4 separate regions of the Homo sapiens genome follow, and all the other regions are linked to region 1. The links are contacts of gene promoters, found by promoter capture Hi-C in blood cells and fetal thymus (Javierre and others, 2016). All regions are on one chromosome and are shown on one strand. The core of a region is centred on a gene start or on the middle of the fragment in contact, and the rest is flanking DNA. Distances in the headings are between cores, read along the strand shown. Region 1 holds the start of FRMD3 (FERM domain containing 3). Region 2 overlaps FRMD3 (FERM domain containing 3). Region 3 overlaps FRMD3 (FERM domain containing 3). Region 4 overlaps FRMD3 (FERM domain containing 3).

Region 1 (4,192 bases), core at 1,573-4,072:
ACTTTATAGTTGGTCTCCTAGGGTGTGACTGAATCTGGTTCAAGTATTAAGAGTGAGAGTAGTCAGAGATGGTGGGAGAGGGGTGGGAGGAGATCGGCTTCCCTTTCCAAGGTAACTGCCTTAAGTGAGTTCCGAAGAGGATCTTCAAACAAAGCAGGAACAGCCTCGTTACATAAGGAAGAGGGCATGCTTCTGCTGCCAAGGGAGTTTGGGGGCTTGAGTGACTAGGAATCATTCAAGTTTTCTTTTATAGTCCTATTCTTATTCCCAGATTCCCACTCTTTCCTGCTGATAATTATAAAATCTTGTGAGGCCGATAATTCAATTGACTTTGTAATTTGGCGATTTGTAGATGAAATTGTGAATTTGGTTTTTCAGTTTTGGCCTTGTGGCTCAATTAACAAGATATTCTTTGAGCTCTGTTGTTTGTAAAAATACAGTTGTTTAAAAGTCATAAGCTGATAATTTAGGACTTAGTGCATCACTACTTTTCTTTCAGTGGTCCAGTTTTAAACTCATCCCTTGAGTTCATTCTTTGAGTTCTTCCTAATCTTCATATTATTATTATTATTGTTGACAATGGCCAGTTGGTTTCCCAGAGCCTTGTCTTCATTGGGTAGTTCAATCCAGGTGACCATACTTGGTAATTTACCTAGCTGTCATGCCAAGTGCTTCCAGAGCCTGTATTTTCATACTAGTTGAATCTCAGCCTTTATTCCTAATCAGGCCAGACAACCAATCTCAGATTCTTCTCATTTCTTCAAAATTCTGTTTCTTACAGTCCCACATTGGGTTATCTTTATTCTGTCTTTTTCACTACTGTCCTTGTTGGTCTTATTTTGCTTCCTTGGAATTTGGGGTAACAATTTTTGGGTATTGATATGACTCTTTTGGAGCCTAACGGTCACTATAATAGGATGGACAAGTGTGTGTGTGGTCTTAAAAGAAAAGCATGGACTGTTTGGCTGGTGACTTTTCTTTGATCTCTGGGCTGTCTGCTCTTTTGGCTAGCAGAGATGATCCAGTTTTCAACTTGGGGCAGGTCCCATCCCTGCCACCTCATATGTGCATATGGGGATTTACAGATTACAGCTGTAAGATGTCCTCCACTGACCCGGTGTCATACCAGCTTCCCAGCCACCTGTGGGATGAACAGGTGTTCTCTCCTTTGAAATGAGAAAAGAAATGGAGAGACTTTTCAAAGATCCCCAGGATTAGCCAGTAGCTGGGCCAAGAATGAAATCCACATCTTCCCATACCCTCAATACTGACCTCTCCATCAGGATCTGCCCTAACATTTGAAGGGCCCAGCTCAAGAGCCTACATGAATGCCCCATACTATCATCTAAATATTCATAAGCAATAGTCAGCTATTGAGTGCTACATAAAACATTCTCTATCCTCCTATCTTGACAAATTGTTGCAATTTGGAATTTCCAGGAGCAGATACTGAGACTGAGTTTGTCCTGTGTGGTATTTATTAGTGATCAACAGGGAGAGGAGGCAGGAGCAGGCAGAGAGAGAAGTCCAAATGCAATGCGGACTCCCCCAAACCTTAGCCAACCCCACTAGGTGTCCTAGAGAATATATGGCCCACCAGACTGTCCAGGGCAGGTAAAATTTGTGTGCCACTCTTCCTCGACCCCCAGGACAGGGCATATCTTTGGATGAGGGGACTCTATGCAGGCACAAACCTTGAAAAAGCTGACAGCTGGTCAACACCTCCTCTTCTAACAAATGTTCCTTCCTAATGACCTGTTCTGCTCCGGCAAGAGCAACAGGGTGAGAGGACTTCCATCTCTCCCAGCTCCTGGACATTCTAGTGCTCACATTCAAGCTCCATACCCCTGACTCAACAGCTGCTCCTGGCCACTCTCGGGCCTACGGTACCTGACACAGTGGCTCTAGCCACCTTGGGGACAACAGAGAGGCAGGATACCTCCTACCTTCAACACCCTGGAGGCGCGTGGGGAATTCCAGAGTCCTCAATACCCAGAGATTGGACTAAAACGGGATGGGGCACATCCGCTTTGCCATTAGACCTCTTAATTCCTGAGCAACCGGGAACTGGAGGAGGTCTGTAAAGCAGGGGAGTAGGATAGGAACCTATCCCTCTTGCTCGGGTCAAAGGTATGCTATCAAAGATCACACTAAGATGTTGGGAGATTTAAAGGAGGATTTGCACATGGAAGGCTCTTTTTTGGAGAAAGAGACTGAGTCCTAGCTAGCATTAAATAAAACAATGGCTTAAACAATCTCCATGAGTACCAGAGATTTTTACTATTAGCGATATTCCTGGTGTAGCCGTGTCAGGGCTGTCACTCTCTCTGTCACTCGCCCTGGGCCCAGCAATCCTTTCCCGAGGCGGAATCCCCCTGGCGGTGTGGGTCAGGATCGCTCTCCGTCCCCTACCCGCGCCAGGTCCCTGGAGCTGAGCAGAGCAGGGCGCTGTCGAGCGCGTTGGGGAGCCGGGGCCGGGACGAGCACAACCGGGAGCCCGAGCGACAGCGGCCAGGGGAGGGAGGAGGCGGTGAGGCTGAGGAAGGCAGTCGGGCCCAGCTTGACGCAGCGGCGGCTGCGACTGAGCAGGCCACCACCAGGGCACCCGGGCCAGCCGCGCCAGCCATCCCTCCGCCTCCTCCTTCAGCTGCTCGGCGCGCGTGGGAGTGAGTGCGTCGCGAGCCCGCCGGGGGTCTCAGGCTCTGGGCGTCCTCGGCGAGCGAGCCCGGGCAGAGGGAGGCGCACGAGCGCGCGCGACAGAAGGAGGCGGGGAAAGGAGGGGGCGAGGCGGAGGCGAGCGAACAGAGGGAGGGACCCGCCCGCCGCGCCCCGGCCGCTGGGCATGTGTGTCCGCAGGCGCCCGACGCTGCCGATGTCCCGGGGCTGAGCCGCGCCCAGGTGTCCCGGACAGTGCGTGCGAGCGTGTGTGTCCGCGCAGGCGAGCACCGCGCCGGCCCTGAGCCTCCCGCTCGCTCCCCACGGCCGCGGTGCATGTTCGCCTCCTGCCACTGTGTGCCGAGAGGCAGGAGGACCATGAAAATGATCCACTTTCGGAGCTCCAGCGTCAAATCGCTCAGCCAGGAGATGAGATGCACCATCCGGCTGCTGGACGACTCGGAGATCTCCTGCCACATCCAGGTGCGCGTGGAACCGGGCGAGGGCGCGGGGCACACGCCGGGAGCAGGGCGGGGGGCCTTTGCGGTGGGCATGCGAGAACAAGGAACCCACTCCCGGAGGGGATTGGGGGACTGCTAGAAAGCCAGATTTCGATTCCTCAGGCCTCTGAGGGTGGGGGGCCTTATCCTGGCATGGAGGGGCATGGTGCCCTGCAAGCGCCAGGCACGCGTTATCCGCGCCCAGTCTCCTTCCCCTCGCGTGCACCCTGCGCGCGCGTCTCACTGCGCCCGGGCTAGGGGCGCGGGGCAGCTGCCTCCGGAGGGACTCTGGCCCCTCTGGGCCCTACTCCGCCAGGAGATGGGAGCTCCGAGGGCTGAGAGGGGCACCTGCATGTCGCCCACTGGTATTTCCTCCCTTCTTCCACGTGGAGAAGGCATGCATCAGCTGGGTTCACTCATTTCTGTCTCCCGCGCCCAGGCTCCGGAGACGCCCTCAGTCCCGGAACCTGCTTTCCGCTCCGTGTCGGTCCCCCTCACCCTCCGCCGGTGGTCTTTAGTTCTCCGCGTGGGGCGGTGGCGAAGTTTCCCCAGAGTGAGAGAGGCCGGGCTGCCCTGGGCGCCAGCCTTGAGGGATGGAGCGCGCGCTGCGCCGGACTGGAGCTACCTCGAAAGGAATGTGTGAAGTCTGAGTGTTTCGGAGAAAGGAAAAGGGATTGTGAGGCCAGCAAGTGGGGAGCCCTGCAGGAACCTGGGTCCTGGGTAAAAGAGCCCCGTGGAATCTTGGTGGACATTCACTGTCGCCCAAGTTGGAGGAGAAGGCGAGTTGTTTGGGAGAAGGCAGCTTTGCTGGCAGCCCTGTCCTCGGGTAGTAAGTGCCTCTGGGCTGTCAGGAGAGCTAGTGTGAGGTGCAAAGGTGTGTGTGTGCATGTGGTTGCGCGTGCGTGTGCATATTTGCTGTGGGTGAATATGTAGGCAGGTGGGAGCCCCTCTTCCAGGACCCCAAAGATGCCCCACTCGGTGCGCACACAATCAGGAAAGGTTGTGTCAGGGCTCAGCACAATTAACTTCTGACTTCT
Region 2 (4,531 bases), core at 1,901-4,400, 130 kb after region 1:
TAGTTGAGGTGAGCCGGGACGAGTCAGAGCAAATATGTTGCTTTTAGAAAGAGAATTTAGGAGGTCAAAAACAACAGATGCTGGTGAGGCTGCAGAGAAAAGGGAACACTTATACACTGTTTCATGAGAATGTAAATTAGTTCAGCTGCGGTAGAAAGCAGTTTGGAGATTTCTTAAAGAACTTAAAACAGAACTACCATTCAACCCAGCAATCCCATTACTGGGTATGTATCCAAAAGAAAATAAATTATTCTACCAAAAAGACCCATAGACTTGTATGTTCATCACAGCACTATTCTCACAATAGCAAAGACATGGAATCAACCCAGGTGACCATCAGTGGTGGAGCGGATAAAGAAAATGTGGTACCTATACACAGTGGAATACTATTCAGTCATAAAAAATGAAATCATGTTCCTTGTGGCAACATGGGTGCAACTGGAGGCCATTATCTTAATAGAATTAATGCAGGAACAGAAAACCAAATTCTGCATGTTCGCATGTATAAGTGGCAGGTAAACATTGAGTACTTATGGACAGAATGATGGCAACAATGAAACTGGGGACTACTGTGGGGGAGGGAGGGACAAGGGCAAGGGTTGAAAAACTACTTATTGGGTACTATACTCAGTACCTGGGTGATGGGATCAGTCATACCCCAAACCTCAGCATCATGCGGTATTCCCGGGTAACAAACCCAGAATCTAAAATAAATGTGGAAATCATTTTTAAAAGTAAATTAATTAATTTAAAAAGAGAGAATTTAGGGTTTCCTGGTTCTTCCATGTGTGAAAGGAAGGATATTGCTAAAAAGCAGTAAGACACAGGGATGATTTTGCCCCTTGTCTGATGAAAGCAAGATTAGGAGTCGTCTGACCTGGAGGAAAGGCTGCTGGTAGAAATGGCATTGAGGGCTGGGCATGCATGTATCTGTCCATCAGTTTCACACTTGATCCAGGGAATGCTCAGGAAAACTGTGACAGACCGGTTGGTTGGAAAACGGAAGAGCTTATTGAAAAAGAAGTGTTCTCAGAGTATGCACACCAATGTTTGAGGACCAGTGACTTGGTGGAAAAGAGCAGAAGCTTTAAAGAGGCACAGAAGAGAGTTCATGTCCTGGGTCCAGCTCTTATTTGTTGCTTGAGCATACATTTTCCCATCTGCAAAGTGGGAATAATAATCTTACTATCTACCAGAGAGACTGTATTAACGAGCTAATATATGTAAATGGCTCAGCACAGTGTCTGGCACATAATATGTGCTAAAAATGTTTGCTCTTATTAAGAAATTTGGGTGGTTGTAATCATACACAAGCATTTGCTGTGGCCAATTTCCTCTGAAGAGTCTCACATTCTTTTTCAAAAGTTTTTGTCCATCCTCTGAACTAACGTGGGGAAAAGCTAGTCAAGGTTTCCCTGTGCTGATGGAGTGGTTTTTTGTTTGTTTGTTTTTGATGGAAGGCAGAAGTTGGGTTACAAGGCAGAGAGCCTCATCTGGAGAGCAATTAGGAGCTTAATAAATAAAAGACCAGTTTGATAAATGCTAGAAGGGAACTTGAAAGTTAAGGACGGGAAGAGTGGGGAGCTGATCCCATTTTTGAACAGTAACATGCAATATTGAGAGCGAGCATTCAGTTCAATGCGCCTGGCTTCCTTCTTGTCCTGAGTTTGATACTGTGTGCTTTTAACATCTTCATGAGCCTTCTGCATCACATCCCACCTCAAATGGGGCTGCATTCTGGGAACCTGGTGGAGAAAAGGTTGACCTCCATGCCTGGGGATGGACAACCTTTGCTTTCCCGAGTATGCTGCTGACCTGCATGGAACTGATTCTTTGGGGGCAATAGAGAGGTGTATGTAATTTATCGCAGCATTCTTTGAGCTGCCTGGGTAGACTTTCAGGACAATGGATTGCACACTATGTTGGCTCTGGCAGGGTTGCTGCTCTCTTCCTTCTCGCCTCTTTCTCAGGAGGGAATGGGAAATCCATTTCCAAATTGAGCTGTGTGTGGTCTCCCCACCATCTTCCCTGCACCTGAATGGTTAATCTTCCAGTTCACGTGTTTCTGCATGGATTGTGTCCGAGGGTGCCTGTGGTAGCAGCTTAACTCTGCTCTGGTAATTAGTGATGAAAGGAGAGGATGCAGAAGGCTCAACCTGAGAGGCAGAATGACTTCACTGAAGAGTCAAGTCAGAAGAAATAAAATTTAGGGGTTGACACCAAGGTCAGTTCCCAAACCCAGGCTGGAAGAGATACAGTAATCTATTTTCCATAAATCAACCTAGTTTTCATATCAAGCCCCTTTCCCCCTGGGGTAGCTGGAAACATTTTCATGTGTCTTTTCTGAACTTTCCCCCACCTGGGGGTTGTGCCTAGTTTCTGGAGTCTCACTGGGTGCCAAGAAATGGGAGGGAGGCATGTTCATTATTGGCTAGATGTCCACATCAGCCTGACCCTTGGGCCCAGTGGGGGTTCTTAGGACATGACAACCTGGTGAGGGCAGAAAGCCCCATGTTTGTGATATTTTTTTTTTCCTAGATAGACCATATTTTTCCTCCCGAATATCCTTGTGCCAACACAGAGCACATCCAGGGAGCAAGCTTGGTTCATACAGCTTGTTCCTTTCTTCGTTTTAATCTGAAAGAAGAATCTTTTATTCCCCTGTGGCACATTAAATAAAGATAGCCATACATTCTTTGCTTTCATCTCGTTGAGAGGACATGTTTAATTCCCTTTCCCTTGAATCCAGGTTGGCCATAGTGACTCACTTGTAATCAGTAGAATGCAGTGGAAGTGACAATGTGTGAAAAGCAACCTCTGCCTGGACCCTTTGGGAATGCTCATCTTGCAGGAGGCTGGCTGCTGATGGAGAAGTCTGGCTTCCTGGAGACTGCCATGGTGTAAGGAAGCCCAAGCTAGCTACACACATGGAGAGCTGCATGGAGAGAAAGAGAAAGAGAAAGGGGAGGGAGAGAGAAAGATGAGAGAGAGAGAGAGAGAGAGAGAGAAAGATGAGAGAGAGAGAGAGAGAGAGAGAGAGAGAGAGAGACTCAACAACCCCCCTCCTCTGCTGGCCAGACCAGTCTAGGCACCAGACATGTGAGTGAAGAAATCTTCAGTTGCTTCCACATCAGACTCCAGTAATATAGAGGAACCCAGACAAGATCCATCCAGTTGAGCTCAGTCAATACAAAGAACTGTGAGAGAATACTTATTGGTTTTTGCTCCTATGTTTTAGAGTGGCTTGTTACACAGGAACAGATAACTAGAACACTTCTCATATTCTATTCTCAGTGGATTTAGACATATGAAAACAAAATCCAAGAGGTCTCACCAGCTACTAATTTTCATTCTGCTACATATAGCCTCCAAGGAGGGTAGGGATTGTGGAGCCGAATGCCTTTTTAAAGTGGGAGTGGAGGCTGGGGGAAATACAGAGATTAAAAATTCCCTAAGTTATATCTACACAATTTTCTCCCATAATTTAGACTTCTAGTAGTATGCAATTCCACCATTATATCCTTGTTGGGGTTGGCCATTTTTAGAATTTTTGGATTTGGGAAGTGGATAGGTAAAAATGGTGCTTTGTTATGGTTTAATGAATATTTGTACCAAGTATTTACTGTGTGTACAAATTATCCTGTAAAGTACAATGAAAAACTTGATGAAAAATAAGTTCACTTGAGAAAAGGAAGCTTAAGATAAGTGATGAAACTGGAATTACACCATCATGAGAAATGACCGTGACAGTATTTCATCCATTTCCAAATGAGGTCAGAGGACAGAAAGGTCAGCGAGGGTGTGGGGAGTCTGTGAGGCCTCTCATGCAGAAGCAGGATCTGCAGCGAACTCTCTGCCAGGATCAGGTGAACACATCAGTGACAAAATTTTGATAGGTGGTGAGAAGGGCTTTATTCACACAGGGGAATGGCAAGAGTGAAACCAACCATGGTGGTGGGGCATTTTGCGGAGTATTTGGAGTGATAAAATAAACTGGAGGAAAATATGGAAAATAAATTAAACAGAAAACAACAACAGGAACAACAACAAAATAAAACCCAGCAACTTGAAGAAGAGATACATACAGTTTACATTTCTGGATTTCTCTGCTCTCTTCTATGGGCTGTGTCCTCACCGATGCTGGCTAACATTTACTGACCACCAAATAAGGACCCGTTGACAACATGTCAATTGCCCAATGGCAAGGAACCAACTCTCTGAGATGATGCATATAACTTGGGGGAGCAGCACTCGTGGGTTGAAAGTTACGTTCTGATCTGGGAGGGTTATCATCAGGACCTTGTCTTGACTCACAAGAGAAAAAGCCATCCTTCCTTCCTTTCCTGAGCTCTTTAAAATTAACCAGTGAGTTACCTGTGGGAACTTTCCTCCATCCTAAGAGCCCTAGCTGGAATCTTTGGGCTGCTGTTTTTCTTTGTGTGCACAAAGCATATATGTATAAGTTCTGCAGTGGAGACCCGGAGTAAGGCTACCCAACTGGTCCTCCAGACACTGCAGTTCATTGTGAGGA
Region 3 (4,185 bases), core at 463-2,962, 180 kb after region 1:
TCCCTCCGAAGGCTCTAGGGAAGAATGCTTCCTGCCTTTTCTGGCTTCTGCTGGTTTCCTGCAGTCCTTGGCCTTCCTTGGCTTGTAGCTGCCTCACTCCACACTCTGCCTCCATCTTCACATGGTGCCTCCCTATGTTTCTCTGTGCCCTGTGTCAAAGTCTCACTCTCCTTTCTCTTATAAAGATATCAGTCAATGGATTTAGGGACCACCCTAACCTAATATGAATGCATTGTAATTAATTAATCAATTACATCTACAAAGACCCTATTTCCAAATAGGGTTCCATTCTGAGGTTCTAGGTGGACATGGGTTTTTTAGATCTCCAGTACTCTCAGCATTTTTCTTTAGCCTCTTTCTTTAGCTTACTACCTCTAGCCCCCTTTGTGTATGTTGTTCTGTTTTGCTGACCTTGGTCACATGCTTTTGACAGTAAAGCTTTGCACAATTCATTTCTTCCAATCCCTGTTGTGGCTGTAACCCTGCCTCCAGAGTGAGGGGCAGCCTATGCTATCATCCTCATTCGTATAACCTACTTGTCTAATCATAATCTCCAGCACTGGGTTTGGAAAATTTCTTCACCTGTTCCATGGCTTTGTATAAAATGTTATGCATGTTATTGATTCATAATAAATGCTTTCTGACTAGGATTAAAATGCTCTTTTTACAGCACAGGTGGAAGTTCAAATGCTATTTTTTTACAAAAAAAAGCAAAACATACAACTGAACACAGCTCATTACATAAATCAAAAAGTACAAAGTCCCCAAGTACTATGGTTTAGTTTTGGATGCCTTTGTTCTTCCCAGTTTTCTTCTTCCAAAGCTTCTTTCCAAGAAGAGCAGCTATGATTTTTGTTTCAGCCATGGAGTGTCTCCAGCGTTGGACACCTGTTTGCTTACCTTGTTCTAGAGACAGCTCATTAGGTTGGGCCAGGTATCTGTTATTCTACCAAGTTCAACTGTTCATCAAAATTTTTATATTTGATCCTTCTCCCAGAAAGTTAATGCAATTTGAGCCTATAAATGGTTTCCATGTTGTGCTCTTTCTTTGTTTCCCAATATGGAAGGAGAGGACAGTAACAATAGTAATGACAAAAACCCTTAATTTTATAGCATGCAGTTCTAAATGATGTGCACACTTGACAAGCCATAGATTTCTAATTTTTAACTTTATGCTTATGCAATGGTTGGTGGCAACACTGACATCATTTTGATTGGGTGCAGTAGTGTGTGCAGGGGTTTCAGGGAGTACCTAGCACTCCTCGTGGGAAGCGGGGTAGTGTGACAGGGGTAGTGGAGGAAGCAGAAGGAATAGGAGCCTCTCCTGGGGGAAGTCCTTATATCTCTGGGGCAGTACTTTCAGGGGCTTTCTTCTTCCTTCAGGAATGCCCGCATTCTTTCTTAGGGGCCCACACGACTCAAAACTACACATGCTGGCAGCATGAGTGTCTGAATGATAACCATGATGGGCAGGAGGTTCCATGCTCGGTATGTGAGTACTAGAGGTGGTTCAAGTGTGGGCCAAGTGGGTAGGAAGGCTTTGTTCATGTCTCCCTTTGGTGGGAGAGCCTTTATAATGCCTGATTTTTGGATGCAACTTTATAGTATCAAATCTCAATACCAAGTTATGTAAGTAGTTGAATTTTTCTGTTACAGTTGTTATTTCTACATATTGATTTACACCTATCAACATGACTCCAAGGGTCTGGCTAGTTATACAACATCAGCAGCAAACAGGTTCCTGGGTCTCTTGCCTTCAGTTTCATGTGTTCTTGCTAACCTTTTGGCTAAAATGTTTAGGTCATTGTACCCTCGGCTCAGGCAGCAAAGCTGTCCTTTAGATGCCAGGGCTGCCAAATATCTCTTCATATACACACCTGTCTCATGCCCACTTCTTCCTCACTCCTCCCTGAGAGATGACAGTGCCCCCTCACTCTTTCAACCCAGGTAAAAGGCAAGGTAACATTGAAGGACTTGACTTTAGCCATGTTGGTTTCTTCCCTGCACTTTAGAGTAACAATAATTCCTATGCATTCAGTCCACAGGTCTCAGCAGGCTGCGAAGTGCTTTGCAGTCATGAACTCATGTCATCCTCATTGTGGTCTCTACGCAGTCATGAACTCATGTCATCCTCATTGTGGTCTCTACGACGGGTCGCAGGCCACACCTAGTCACCACCTATGTTCATATGGCCTTTGGTCTAGGAATAGGTTTCACATTTTTAAATGGTTGAAAAAAACCAAAAGATATATAAGATTTTTGTGGCATACAAAAATGATACAAATTCAAACTTCAGTGTTTTATTGGAGCACAGCTATACACACTTGTTTATGTATTGGTGGTGGCTGCTTCTCTACTACAACAACTGGGTGGAGTCGTTGAGACAGAAAACTCGAGCCTTCCAAAGTTGAAAATATTTATTCTCTAGCCCTTTACAGAGAAAGTTTGATGCCCTGCTCTCTGTGGTTGGTTCCATTATTATTCCCATTTTACAGATGAGGAAATGGAGGCAGGGAGTTTTAAGTTTGGACGCAGCAATTTGTTCAAATGACAAACTTGAGGTTAGAAGTATGGGACCCCAAAGTCTCTTTTCAAGCTTCTCCTGAGCAGGCATAGGCAGGAAGAGAATTCAGAGACCAAGGATTTGTGAGGCAACCACTCAGCATTCCAATCTCCCTTAAGAGAGTTCTCTGAGTGACTGTAGTCAGTGCCTACGAGTGTGGGTGGGCATGCCTGTGTGTGATAAAAGCATAGGAGGGAACTGTAACGAGAGGAAGATGAATTAAACATGATTTTAAAAACCTGTCTCTGCTTTGGAAGCTGGGGAAACACAGTGATTATCATTTCAGTAAGAGTGGGGGAAGGATCATCACTGTTGCTGATGATGCTGATAGTAACAGTTGTTGTTTAATGATTATAATCATTTCCATGTAGAAGAGAGCAGTCATGAATGCAGCCTGCACTCTCTGTGGCTGGCTTATTTACACATATTTCTAGAGTCACAGTTGGAGAATGAGTGAGCAATGTTCTCCCCTTTAGGTGCTCAAGCGTCATTTTGCATATGTGCAGAGGTAGTTTGTGCTTTCGAACCATATCATTATTGAATGCAGCACAGTTGAATCCATTGGCATCACTGTGCATGGCATGTGCACAACAGGAATATAGGCAACAGTGACCAAGCTGAGAATAAAATCAAGAACTCAATCCCTTTCACAATAGCTACAAATAAATAAATAAATAAATAAATAAATAAATAAATAAATACTTAAGAATATACCTAACCAAGGAGGTGAAAGACCTCTACAAGGGAAACTACAAAACACTGCTGAAAGAAATCATAGACAACACAAACAAACGGAAACACATCCCATGCTCATGGATGGATGGAATCAATATTGTGAAAATGACCATACTGCCGAAGGCAATTTACAAATTCAGTGTAATTCCCGTCAAAATACCACCATCATTCTTCACATAACTAGAAAAAACAATTCTAAAAACCATATGGAACCAAAAAAGAGCCCACATAGACAAAGCAAGACTATGCAAAAAGAAAAAATCTGGAGGCATCACATTACCCGACTTCAAACTATATACTATAAGGTCATAGTCACCAAACAGCATGGTACTGGTATAAAAATAGGCACATAGACCAATGGAACAGAATAGAAAACCAAGAAATAAAGCCAAATACTTACAGCCAACTGATCAACAAAGCAAACAAAAACGTAAAGTGGGGAAAGGACACCCTGTTCAACAAATGGTTCTGGGATAATTGGCAAGCCACATATAGAAGAATGAAACTGGATCCTCATCTCTCACCTTATACAAAAATCAACTCAAGATGGATCAAAGACTTAAATCTAAGACCTGAAACCATTAAGATTCTAGAAGGTAGCATTGGATAACATGGGATAAACCCTTCTAGACATTGGGTTAGGCAAAGACTCCATGACCAAAAACCCAAAAGCAAGTGCAACAAAAACAAACATAAATATATGGGACTTAATTAAGCTGAAAAACTCCTGCACAAAAAATAAATAATCAGCAGAGTTAACAGACAACCCACAGAGTGGGAGACAATCTTCACAATCTATACATTTGACAAAGGACTAATATCCAGAATCTACAAAGAACTCCAACAAATCAGCAAGAAAAAAACAAGCAATCCCATCAAAAAGTGGG
Region 4 (4,748 bases), core at 1,802-4,301, 220 kb after region 1:
TTAGAAAGGTGGTGACAGTTCAATGAATAATGAGAATGGCTAGCTCTGTAGATCAGAGGAGTACTTATTAGTGGGTGGTAGAATGAGGGCCTTTCAAGTAAACTGGGAGGATCACCCCGAGCAAAGCTGATTGCCCAAGGCTATGGGAGGCACAGGGCTGCTTTGGCTCTGGTCCTGGTTCACTTTGGTCTTGGTCTGGGTCGTTAGGGTGAAGTTTTGCATTGAGGGCCAGAAGAGTGGGTTGCTGCTTAGTGACATGCTGGGTATTTTGACTGCTTTGTCCCTAGTTGGGAAGGTGAGATGAGTATACAAATGAGTGTGTGTGTGTGTGTGTGTGTGTGTGTGTGTGTATGCATGAGAGACGGCTCAATAATATGTGAATTCAATAAGTTTGTTTTCTGTATTTTTTTTTTAAGACAGGATCTTTCTTGCTCTGCCACCCAGGCTGAAGGACAGTGGCACGATCATAGTGCACAATATCTGGCTAATTTAAAAAAAAATTTTTTTAGAAGTGACCTTGCTACATTGCCAGGCTTGTTTTGAACTTCTGGGCTCAAGTGATCCTCCCACCTTAGCCTCCCAAAGTGTGGGGATAACAGGCATGAGCCACTGCACCAAGCCTGACTTCAATAATTTTCTGTATGGTTTATTTGTTGGTGGAGAGTAAGATATTACTTCAAGAACTTATGAGAGAGATGGAGAGAGAAATACCATATGGATTAAGAAAACCTTCCAGAGATCTCTTTTCCCATCCCTGTCAATATAGTTGTTAATTTTCCTGAGTCCATTGTTACTTTATCAAAAGGAAAAAATTATAATGACTGTGTCTTGAAAAGAAAAGAATCAAAGAAATGGCCCAAGATAGTAATTGCTGGATCGAAAGTGCCCACAAGTACTGATTGGGATGAATACATAAAGATATTCTCTATATACATATATCACAGTGAAATTTCAGAACACTAAAATGAATAAGGAAATCTTGAAAAGCTTTAGACTTTATTTTTCTAAAGCACAAATTTGACTTAATTCCTCAGGAGTATTCTGTAGATGGCTTTAAAAATGATCTTTTCTATTAAAAGAAAAAGGTGGCCAGGTGAAGTGGCTCATGCCTGCAATCCCAGCACTCTGGGAGGCTGAGGCAGGTGGATTGCTTGAGATCAGGACTTCAAGACTAGCCTGGCTAACATGTCGAAACCCCATCTCTACTAAAAACAAAAATTAGCTGGGTGTGGTGGCGGGCACCAGTAATCCCAGCTACTCCGGAGGTTGAGGCAGGAGAATCATTTGAACCTGGGAGGCAGAGGTTGCAGTGAGCTGAGATTGCACCACTGCACTCCAACCTGGGCAATAGAGTGAGACTCTGTCTCAAAAAAAAAAAAAAAGAAAAAAAAAAAAGAGAAAAAAGAATAAGGTGGCATATATGTCAATCTTCCTTTCCTTCACCGAGTCCTTATGGATAACAGGAAAAGCATTAGAAAAGGAATAGGAGAAAATATCATCTTTGGATCAGAAATCCTGCAACATCTGTGGAAGATAGGAAACAGAAGGGATCCAGGCCAGACACAGACTTAGAATAGCAGTGGTTCTGGGTTTCTGGGTGCCTCCAGGAATACACACAACAGCCATCACAGTGAGTGGGCAACTACATTTGAAGCAAGTGGACAACTTTGACCCCTCCCTCTGGTTGCTTTGTGCTGAGTCATGGGCAGCAGCAGGCTTGAGCGGAAGGTACCCGGTGTGCGTGCCTAGAACTAGAACCTTCGGCCCCCAGTCAAGTTACTGATACATGTTGTATTAGTTGTTCTTGCATTGCTATAAAGAACTACACAAGACTGGGTAATTAAGAGGTTTAATTGGCTCACAGTACCACAGGCTGAACAGGAAGCATGGCTGGAGAGTCCTCAGGAAACTTACAAACGTGGTGGAAGGCAAAGAGGAAGGAGGCACATCTTATGTGGCTGGAGCCTGAGGAAGAGAGAGCAGGGGGAGGTGCTACACACTTGTAAACAACCAGATCTTGTGAGGACTCACTATCCCGAGAACAGCAAGGGAGAAATCTGCCCCCATGATCCAATCACCTCCCGCCAGGCCCCTCCTCCAACGTTGGGGATTACAATTCGACATGAGATTTGGGTGGGGACACAAATCCAAATCATATCACATGCTGTTCCACACGGCACATCCCACTCTTCCCTCAACCTCTGGAGGCTGATACATCAAATATAAAAATGAGAGTCCAACAGGAATCACCAAACACTTAAGGAAACATCAGCTCCACAAATTACAGACTCTGAGTCAGCATACAAAATGACCTTCACCAAGAAAGCAGCATTAATGCAGCCAACAAGATTGGACCTTAATAGAAATGAAGTGGTACCCTCAGAGGGATAAGAGGAATTCATGATCATGAGCTGAGAACAGGCTGCTATTTGAAGATCCACATAGATATTACATTGGAAATGAAATATTTCATTGATATTTAAAAAAAAAACATATCAATGACAGAAGCAGCAGAATGTGCACAGCTGAAGAATAAATTAGCAGGCTGGACATTTGAATTAAGAAATAATTCAGAGCATAGTACCAAAAGACAGAGATATAAAGAATGAAACAAAGATTAAAAGACCTAGGACCTAGAAGTTTCAAGACCCATTTATTAGGGCCTCTCAAAGGAGATAAGAGAGAGAGTGGGAGAGAGAGAGAGTGGTGGAGGAAGTGGGGAAGGGAAGAAAAGAATCAAGAAATAGTCAAAGAAAGATATGCATTGTTGGATTAAAAGGATCTACACTGTGCGGATCATGATGAATAAATAAAGATGCTCCCTAGACATACCACAGTGACTTCAGACGTATCAGTGTAACTCCAGTGCACTAAAGGTAAAGAGATTGTGAAGGGCTCTAGGAATAAAGTAGATGGGATACTGTTTTGATTTAGAGGTATGATGACTCTTTGCTATCTTGAGGGGGTGGGGGGACAATCCGTCTTTGGGAAGGAAGTTAAGTGGAGATAGATTTAATATTGCAATATAATTTTACATTTTGAAAATAAAATGAATTCCTGTTGTTTTCTCTGCTTGGTTGCTAGAATTACATAAATATCCTTGGGGAATGATTGAGATTCTCTAAAATACATGTAGGATATTAATATTAGTCAAAGTGGGGTCTTTGAAATGTTGCATAGTCTTTCTTTAGATGTTAGCCCTGAAAGGGCTTCGCGGTCATCTATATTTGCAGCCCTTTTCTCCCTGAGGCCAAGACCTTGTTTACCACCTCGCAGGACAGTGCTAGGACTAGTGGTTGAGATTTCCTTTTGAAGTCCAGGGCTCTCTGTGGGATGGTTGACAATTCTTTTGGCCTTGATGGCTCTGTTTAGGCTTGTTGATGGGGTAACAGGATTGTGCATTTTTTTCCCTGAGCAAGAAGGCATGCCATTTAACCTGGATAATGTTTTTAAATTAGCAGAAAGAACAGATGATTAGTTTTATTTCGTATTAAGGTTGAATTTGCAAGGGCCTGCTTATTGGTAACTTGATAACCTTGATTAACTGTACGGATCACTGGAGCGCTCAGAGTGCGTGTGGGTTTGTTATGGAACAATTAACTAGAGAACACAAGCTCGGGTTCCTTAGTAAAGGACTCCTTGTGGTGAGAAATAATGATCAGTCTTACTGATTACTATTTATGTAAGGGTTTTTCTCTTTATTTAGCTTAGAACACCATACTTTATTGAATGAAGGGATTCCGAGTTTCTATTCTTTTCCATTTTAACTGCCTCAACTTTTCTTGTGTGATTTTAGGGGGCAGAGCCCACCAGTTGCTGAATTTAACTTGCTCCTGAAAGCTCACACTTTGGAAACCTACGGGGTGGATCCTCACCCATGCAAGGTAACTGCCCCTCACAGCAGGTCACCATATAATGGTTGTTTTGCCCAAAAGAGAGTTTATCTGTGCGCAGGCCTGGCAGAGCCTTGTTAAATCTTTCCCACAGCTTGGCCCACGGTCCCTCATTGGAAGGGACAACAGTGGGCTGCTGTTACATGTTTTGGCAGCTGATTTTCTCCATTGGAGTCTTCCAATTGTTCATTGATTGCCATGTAGTAGCCATATTTTCCTAAATTAACATCCATGGATTCACTCATCAAATGGATGGTTTGGCCCCTGAGGAGTTACAGGCTCCTGACACATTTACTTTCAAGGCCATTGCCAGCAAGAATGGAGTCTTTAAAAAATGGGAAAGTGGAAGGAAAAAAAAGAAAGATTTCAAGTTGCATTTTGGCATTAGGAACACTTGTTTTTATTTTTTCCTTTACTCATATTTGACAGTGTTTCTCTCAAGGATGAAACACAGACTACTTATATCAGAATCTCCTGGACCTCACCCCAGAGCTACTAAATCAGAATTCTGGGGGTACAACTGGGGAATCTGCCTTTTTAATCAAGCTCCCAAGGTGTGATACTTATAGATACATTTTCCAGAAATGTTTCACTGAAGCAACGTTCTTCTTTCCATATATTAGACTATGCATCAGCCAGACACTAGTCCTAATCCTAAACTAAGCATTTTATCAGTTAGGCTCTTAAGTATAAGTTTTGGAGTTTTAGTGGCAAATTTCTTTACCCAGATTGGACTGCCTAATCTTATTTGGCAAAGCATTAGTCCTATAGGTCTCAGCTTGGGCTGCTCATTAGAAACACCTGGAGAGCTTCATTAGCACCTGCTGACCAGAACACATCCCACACCAATTACGT

Evidence for each region. Contacts are between HindIII fragments. The CHiCAGO score rates a contact against its expected background, and 5 or more counts as called.
Region 2: a contact is called between a fragment that was not itself captured here and the fragment with the promoter of FRMD3 in region 1, in 5 of 17 cell types (M2 macrophages, M0 macrophages, neutrophils and 2 more). The highest score is 12.5, in M2 macrophages.
Region 3: a contact is called between a fragment that was not itself captured here and the fragment with the promoter of FRMD3 in region 1, in 5 of 17 cell types (M0 macrophages, M2 macrophages, neutrophils and 2 more). The highest score is 9.7, in M0 macrophages.
Region 4: a contact is called between a fragment that was not itself captured here and the fragment with the promoter of FRMD3 in region 1, in 1 of 17 cell types (M2 macrophages). The highest score is 6.7, in M2 macrophages.

Annotation. Positions count from the first base shown.
Region 1 is chr9:83,537,031-83,541,222 of GRCh38, reverse strand. It overlaps FRMD3 (FERM domain containing 3), which reads left to right and starts at 2,822. Exons shown (of 14, transcript NM_174938.6): 1 at 2,822-3,138. The coding sequence starts at 2,992. The HindIII fragment of the contact is 8,384 bases long and covers 1-4,192 here.
Region 2 is chr9:83,406,356-83,410,886 of GRCh38, reverse strand. The region is part of intron 1 of FRMD3 (FERM domain containing 3); the gene reads left to right. Among named protein-coding and RNA genes, the nearest start is that of FRMD3, 130 kb to the left of the region's middle. The HindIII fragment of the contact is 1,095 bases long and covers 2,603-3,697 here.
Region 3 is chr9:83,357,752-83,361,936 of GRCh38, reverse strand. The region is part of intron 3 of FRMD3 (FERM domain containing 3); the gene reads left to right. Among named protein-coding and RNA genes, the nearest start is that of FRMD3-AS1, 140 kb to the right of the region's middle. The HindIII fragment of the contact is 1,773 bases long and covers 826-2,598 here.
Region 4 is chr9:83,312,796-83,317,543 of GRCh38, reverse strand. FRMD3 (FERM domain containing 3) reads left to right here. Exons shown (of 14, transcript NM_174938.6): 7 at 3,797-3,884. Among named protein-coding and RNA genes, the nearest start is that of FRMD3-AS1, 96 kb to the right of the region's middle. The HindIII fragment of the contact is 4,123 bases long and covers 990-4,748 here.